Linked DNA regions of Homo sapiens: region 1 is linked to region 2. The links are contacts of gene promoters, found by promoter capture Hi-C in human tissues and cell types (Jung and others, 2019). All regions are on one chromosome and are shown on one strand. The core of a region is centred on a gene start or on the middle of the fragment in contact, and the rest is flanking DNA. Distances in the headings are between cores, read along the strand shown.

The links. Contacts are between HindIII fragments. The study calls those that stand out against the background at their distance.
Region 1: a fragment that was not itself captured here is called in contact with the fragment with the promoter of COX4I2 in region 2 in 2 of the 25 tissues and cell types used here (adrenal gland and spleen).

The regions. Positions count from the first base shown.
Region 1 is chr20:31,813,347-31,817,084 of GRCh38, forward strand. No RefSeq gene overlaps it. Among named protein-coding and RNA genes, the nearest start is that of MYLK2, 4.1 kb to the right of the region's middle. RefSeq lists an enhancer at 2,338-3,140. The HindIII fragment of the contact is 4,370 bases long and covers 1-3,738 here.
Region 2 is chr20:31,635,619-31,639,619 of GRCh38, forward strand. COX4I2 (cytochrome c oxidase subunit 4I2) reads left to right here and starts at 2,294. Exons shown (of 5, transcript NM_032609.3): 1 at 2,294-2,344; 2 at 3,400-3,481. The coding sequence starts at 3,400. RefSeq lists a silencer at 2,215-2,354. The HindIII fragment of the contact is 12,374 bases long and covers 1-4,001 here.

The DNA.
Region 1 (3,738 bases), core at 620-3,119, 180 kb after region 2:
GGAGGCCAAGGTGGGTGGATTGCTTGAGGTCAGGAGTTTGAGAGCAGCCTGGCCAAAATGGTGAAACCCTGTTTCTACTAAAAATGCAAAAAATTAGCTGAGCATGGTAGTGTACAACTGTAATCCCAGCTACTCAGGAGGCTGAGGCAGAAGAATCACTTGAACCCAGGAGGTGGAGGTTGCAGTGAGCAGAGATTGCACGACTGTACTCCAGCCTGGGTAAAAGAGCAAGACTCCGGCTCAAAAAAAAAAAAAAAAAAAGAAACATACAAAAAAGAAAATGAAGTTCCTGTCCTAGGAAAGCCTTAGATCAGTGGCTCTTCACCCTGCCACACATCAGAATCTTTTGGAGAGATTTTTAAAAATACCAACATTCTGGGCCCCACTCCAAATGTTCTTAATTGGTCTGAGCTGAGGAGGGGCTCAGACTTCAAGAGTTGTAGAAACTCTCCAGGTGTTTTCAGTGTGCATCAGGGTTGAGAAGTGTGGCCCTGGGTTATAGGGATATGAATCCTGGAAGCTCTCCACTGACTGCACCAGGGTGACTGTCAGGACAGTGCCTCAAATCTGTTCCCTCTTCCAAGGCTCTCAGGATGCTTTCTAGAGAGCTGGCTCTCTGACTTGGTGGTTCTTGAACTTGGATGTGCATGAAAAATCACCTGAAATGCTGGTTTATAGACATTTCTGGGGCCTCATTCCAAGGAAGCTCCATTTTATTTTTTATTTTATTTTTATTTTTGAGACTTAGTCTTGCTCTATTGCCCAGGCTGGAGTGCAGTGGCATAAGCTTGGCTCACTGCAACCTCTGCTTCCTGGGTTCAAGTGATTTTCATGCCTCAGCCTCCCGAGTAGCTGGGATTACAGGTGCTCACCACCATGCCCGGCTAATTTTTATATTTTTAGTAGAGATGGTGTTTCATCATGTTGGCCAGGCTGGGCTTGAACTCCTGATCTCAAGTGATCCGCCTGCCTTGTCCTCCGAAAGTGCTGAGATTACAGGCATGAGCCACTTCGCCCAGCCAGGAGGCTTCATTTTAAACCAACTCTGGGGCTTAGTTACTGAGAAAGCCTTGCAGTAGCTGAATTGCGAGTTCTCTGAGGCCCTGAGCCAAGAAGTCCTTTCATGGTGTTTTATAGCTCTTACCATTTTCTCTCTGAAGAAATCTGTGTCCACGTTGATATATTTGGAATTACTTATTGATCTGATTAAGAGTTACAAGTCATTTCCAAAAAAGTTGGAAAATCTAGATGAATAAAGAATAAAAATAATCTCTATTTCTACGCCTGTAAATATGTCCATTTATATCCCTCCAGCCATCTTCTTTGTAAATATTTTGAACAAAAAGGATCCCGCTCTATGGCTGATTTTTATTTAATTTATTTATTGAGACAGGGGCCCACCCTGTCACCCAGGCCATAGTGCAGTGACACAATCATGGCTCACTGCAGCCTCAACCTCCTGGTGTCAAGCAATCCTTCTACCTCAGCCTCCTGAGTAGCTTGGGACCACAGGTGTGCACTGCCACGCCTGGCGAATTTTTAAATTTTTTTGCAGAGATGGGGTCTCACCATGTTGCGCAGGCTGGTCGTGAACTCCTGGGCTCAAGTGATCCTCCAGCCTCGGCCTCTTAACATGCTAGGATTACAGGCATGGTTGATTTTTATAGTCTTTTTTCACCTAAAATGTAATATGCAGTGATTCTATAGCTCTCCCCCAATTTCATCTCTGTGTCCTGAAAGTGACCAGTTTAGTCCTTGTCACAGTAGAGCCCCCAGTAATTAATCTTAGCAATAAAATTCTATAACTGTGGGATGGAACAGTGTGTCAATTGCGTTTTCGGAGAAACCTATGTCCAATTTGCACACAGAACGCCCACAGACCTCTGCTTACTAGCTTGGCTGGAAGGACAGGGTCTGCTGTAAGGACAGCAACCTTACCTAGGGCTTTTCCAGAGGCCTGAGAGGTCCTGCCAAGGCCCTGGGCTCAGGGGTCCAAGGTGGGAGAGGGCGAGAGAAAACAACGTGCTAATGCAGCCTTGAGTGGCTCTCAAACAGGAGCAGAGGGAAGGCTGTGAGGGGAGTTGGCTGCTCTCTTTGGAGTCAGAAAGGTTGTTGCTCAACTCTTTGGATTTTCCATCACAGCTGGGCAGGGAGAGGGTCAGACTGGGCATGACTTCTCCGAACAGGTCCTTTTAAAGCCTCTTGGCTGAACTGATTTCCTCTCCAGAGCCAAGGAAGCAGTGCCTGGGTGAAGTTAACCCCTTCACCCCCAACACATTCTTCCAGAGCTAGGTGAGCCTGGAAGCCTAGGCTCCTGGAAGGCAGAGCTACACAGGGCAAGAGGCCTAAGGAGCCGTGAACTCTGGCTGGAGAAACCTTCCCTCTGGCCTTGTTAAATCCAACAGGCATAATTGCATCCTGCTGACCTTAATTCCCCTGGCGGGTTTAATTGGTCTTGGCATTGCCCCACTTCCTGTCCTGCCCCTGTAGAGGCAAAGAGGGTGTCTGCACAGCTGGTGCAGGGCGGGGAAGCCCCTTCTTGAGGGTGGGCAGGGGCTCTGGCAGCCCCTAGGTGGGTGGAGGAAGTTTCCCCGTGCCCCACCCCTGTGCCTCCAAGGGAGTGCTGAGAAGCTTGGGGACTCCCAGGGAGCAGCTGGCTGGAGCAGGCAGTCCCGTAGATTCGGAACCAGGCCAGACTCTCATCCCAGTGGGAGGCACTGCAGGGGAGCTGGCGGGAACAGATGAACCCTCTACCTGGGGTGTCCACGACATTATCAGGCCCCCACAGTGCTGTAGGTACTGTGCCATTGGGCACTCTTTACATGTGTGCTGGCTAAATGCTCGCAGCCATGCTGTGAGAGGGAGGCAATGGGGCAGAGCAGTTATGAGCAGAGCCTTGGGTTAGATGGGTCCAATCCCAACTCTATGACTTTGCCCTGTGACTCAGTTTTCCTGTCACATCTGTGAAATGGGGATTAAAGAGCTGACATTTATACAGCACTCGCTATGCTCACACTCACTGTTGTAATGCTTTATCTACCTCCTGGGAGGCAGATGCTCTCCTTACGGATGAGGAAACAGGTGAAGACATTGTTCCAAGCTCACAGTTACTGGTCGCAGCGCTTCATTGACAGATCTCCTAATCACTGCATGGTAGGGAGTTGTAAGACTCGAAGGAAGGATACTCATGAAGCTGCTTACCCCAGGGCCTGGTCCATTTTAGAAAGAGTTCAATAAGAGTAATTATTTGGGAATAATAATTATAACAAAAGTAGCACTAATGCCCCTGAAGTTGTCCCAGGCTGGATTTTGGTCTCATTGGGAGGTGGCTCTGGATTTGAATGTGGGTAGTTTGAAGCCATTCACTAGCTGAGTGACTGTGGGGACAAGCCACTTCCCTCTGTGAGCATCAGTTTCCACACCTTTAAAATGGTGTAACATTGGCCCCTACAGTCCCTTCTGAGGATCCAGGGAGCTGGATCTTTGGCATAGTCTGGCCTGGCCGTTGGTGGGCACTCAATAAATGACTGGTATTGATAACCACAATAATAACAAGGAGATGCCAGCAAGGTCCAGCATAGGGAGGTAACAAACTCCAGTCTGGAGCCTTCTGGTTAATCAGTTATTTACTCATCAGACACTGATGGGCAAGTCCACTCTGTGCTGGGGATGTGTTTAGCCCCTGGCCTTCAGGGGGCTCCCAGACAGTGTCAACCAATGGTGGGATCAGCTGGGGCA
Region 2 (4,001 bases), core at 1,044-3,543:
CAGATGTGCACCACCACACCTGGCCAATTTTTTTATTTTTAGTAGAGACGGGGTTTCACCATGTTGGCCAGGCTGGTCTCAAACTCCCGACCTCAGGTGATCCATTCGCCTCGGCCTCCCAAAGTGCTGGGATTATAGGCATGAGCCACCGCACCTGGCTGTCTCTTCTGTTCAGTTGTTTTTTTTTTTTTTTTTGAGACGGAGTCTCGTTCTGTCGCCCAGGCTGGAGTGCAATGGTGCAATCTTGGCTCACTGCAACCTCCACCTCCCGGGTTCAAGCGATTCTCCTGCCTCAGCCTCCCAAGTAGCTGGGACTACAGGTGCATGCCACCACGCCTGGCTAATTTTTTGTATTTTTGGTAGAGATGGGGTTTCACCGTGTTAGCCAGGCTGGTCTCGATCTCCTGATCTTGTGATCCACCTGCCTTGACCTCCCAAAGTGCTGGGATTACAGCGTGAGCCACTGCACCTGGCCTGTCTCTTCTGTTTTTTGAACATGCTGTGTTTTCCTGCCTCTGGGTCTTTGCACAGGCCTTTTCCTCTGCCTAGAACAGAATTGTAAGCCCTGTGGGGGCAGGAACTATGTCTGGTTTTTTTTGGCTCTATAGCCCCCAACATTTATCCTGGTAAACAAGTATGCAATAAATGCCAGCTGAAACAGGTCTTTATAAGTTTTTTTTAAGTTTTTTTTTTTTTTTTTTTTTTTTTGAGGAGTCTCACTCTACCACCCAGGCTGGAGTGCAGTGGTGCGATCTTGGCTCACTGCAACGTCTGCCTCCCAGGTTCAAGCGATTATCTAGCCTCAGCCTCCCGAGTAGCTGGAATTATAGGTGTCCCCTGCCACACTCGGCTAATTTTTGTATTTTTAGTAGAGACGGGATTTCACCACGTTGGCCAGGGTGGTCTCAAACTCTTGACGTTAGGTGATCTGCTCGCCTCCGCCTCCCAGAGTGCTGGGATTGCAGGCATGAGCCACCACGCCCAGTTTTATAAGTAATTCTTGAATAAATGTGCCTGAGCCTTGTCTATTTTTTTTTTTTTTTTTTTTGAGATGGAGTCTCGCTCTGTCACTAGGCTCGAGTGCAGTGGCATGATCTTGGCTCACCGCAACCTCTGCCTTGCGGGTTCAAGCCATTCTCCTGCCTCAGCCTCCTGAGTAGCTGGGACCACAGGCGCCTGCCACCATGCCTGGCTAATTTTGTTTGCATTTTTAGTAGAGACGGGGTTTCGCTGTGTTAGCCAGGATGGTCTCCATCTCCTGACCTCATGATCTGCCCCCCTTGGCCTCCCAAAGTGCTGGGAATTTTTTTTTTCTTTTTCTTTTTCTTTTTTTCTGAGACAGAGTCTTGTTCTGTTGCCCAGGCTGGAGTGCAGTGGCCCGATCTCGGCTCACTGCAACAGCCGCTTCCCAGGTTCAAGTGATTCTCCTGCCTCAGCCCTCTGTGAAGCTGGGACTATAGGTGCGCGCCACCACGCCCTGCTAACTTTTTTTTTTTTTTTTTTTTTTTTTGAGATGGAGTCTAGCTCTGCTGCCCAGGCTAGAGTGCAGTAGCCGGATCTCGACTCACCGCAACCTCCGCCTCCCGGGTTCAAGCGATTCTCCTGCCTCAGCCTCCTGAGTAGCTGGGATTACAGGTGCGTGCCACCACGCCCAGCTAATTTTTGTATTCTTAGTAAAGATGGGGTTTCACCATGTTGGCTAAGCTGTCTCAAACTCCTGACCTCGTGATTTGCCTGCCTTGGCCTCCCAAAGCGCTGAGATTACAGGCATGAGCCACCGCGCCCGCCCAATTTTTCTATTTTTAATAGAGAAGGTGTTTCGCCATGCTGGGCAGGCTGGTCTCAAACTCCTGACCTCAGGTGATCCTCCCGCCTCGGCCTCCCAAAGTGCTAGGATTACAGGCGTGAGCCACTGCTGGCCTAAAAGATGCTTCTGGAGTAGGAGGCATTGGGCCTGGCTGGAAGGTTTGCGTCTGCAAAGGCCTGAAGAGAACATCCCAGGTGGGAGAAACAGCAAGGAGGGGAGGTGTGGAGGAGGCAGGGAGACCCTGTTCTTGGGACTACTGTCTGCAGAGGGTCTCCAGAGGCAGGACCCCGGTAGGGACACTGATGCAGGAGGCGCTCTGCAGTGCCTCCCCCCAATCTGTGGGCCGGGGTGCCCCCAGGGACGCAGGCTGTGCGCTCCCACGCCCTGCCGAAGCAGGACGTTCCCACGCTGGGGCGGCCCCGAGAAAGGCTGTGGGGCGGGCCGGGGGCGGGCGCCCGCACTCAGGTCCCTCCGCAGCGGGTTCTCAGTTGCTCGCTGGGCAGACCCAGGTCGCGCTCCCACTGCCGAGCCCGCGAGGTGAGTGAGTTGGGGGAGGACCCCGCCACCCAAGCCCGCGCGGGTCAGGGGCGCGGCTCGGTCTCCTGCCTTCGCCGCTGGGTCACGCCCCAGTGGTCCCTGTCTTAGAGGGTTGGGGGGCTTCTTGTAGGTTAGAGTTGAAGACTCCTGGGGAGTCTGCATATGTGTGCCATCTCTTTCCCCAAATATAGATTACATCCTCCCTCTCTTGATATGTGGAGCTCTCCCACCCACTAATCATAATCACTGGCCGGAGCCCCTCTTTTCCAGAAGTGTGGGCCGCCCCCTCCCACTTATCACCTGTAGTGTGCCCCCTCCCTCACTCTATTTGTTGGGTGCCCCTCTCTCTCCCTAGATGTGGGACTCCCCTTCTTTTCCCCAGATGTGTGTCTCCCTCCCTCTGACCCAGTTAAGTCCCCATCCTCTAAAGCCCCTCCCCACCACCATGGATGCCAAACCCTGAGTCTTCCCTGGGGGTGGGAGACTGGGCTCAGCCAGACTGGCTAAGCCCAGTCCCCACCCCAACCAGATCCAGCAGAGCAGGCCTGTGTGCACGTAGGCAGCCAATTAGGGGGGAAGGGGTGGGGGCCAGACCGTCTGTCTGTTCTGCCGGTGCAGGGGCCTCTGGCCCCTGCAGGGAAGAGAGACTCAAGAACTGCTCCCTCTCCACCTGGACCCCACCCAGCTTCCTCTGGGGAGCAAACAAGTGAGCGGGGTTCTCCAATCTGGCCAGACTGAGCTGGGGCTGGCACCAGAACCCAAGCCCTCAGCCTCAAACTCTTCAGACCCTGGCCCAAGACTTAGGCCTCCTCCCACTTCTCAGATGGTGAATTGAGGTCCCAAAAAGGGGCTTCAAAGGTCTAGGACCCCCATTGGCCCCCCGCTGGGGATATCAGACAAAATTAGAAGGGTCAAGGGCATGAGGGTGACCTTGAAACACTGGGACACCCCTACCACTACCATACCAGTGGAAAAGGATTTTTCCATCTGGCCCTGCGGTTTGGGGGCAGAGGGTGATGTGGGGGCAGAACTCATCTATACCTTCACGCCCCCAGATGCTCCCCAGAGCTGCCTGGAGCTTGGTGCTGAGGAAAGGTGGAGGTGGAAGACGAGGGATGCACAGCTCAGAAGGCACCAGTGAGACCTGGACTCCTTCCTCCCTGCCTAACTCCAGAGATAGGGGCAGGGGTCCCCTCTGCAGGCTGCCCCCTTTGCCCTTCCATGCCACCCTGGGCCTGTTCCTACCACACTTCCCATGTTCCCATGATCCCACTCCTTGGTCCAAGGTCAAGTTTCTCCAGGAAATGGAGTGCGCGGGGTGAGCAGACAGTGGTCATCTCCATTCCAAGCTTCCTTAGGAGCCAGCCCCCAAGCCTCAGGCCCCTAGACCTTTTGTTCTGAGGTGGAGGATGCTGACAGAACCTTGGACCCTGATTCCTCCTTTCCAGACCCTAGTTTCAATGCTAGTAAGAAGAAAGAGACCTAAAGTAGGAGAGACTTCAGCCAGATAGCAGAAGGGCCTTGCTGACCCATGGAGAATAACAAAGATAACATTTATTGAGCCCTTACTAGTACCCCAAGCTATTATAAACCTCCTTTTTTTTTTTTTTTGAGATAGAGTCTTGCTCTGTCGCTCAGGCTAGAGTGTTCAGTGGCG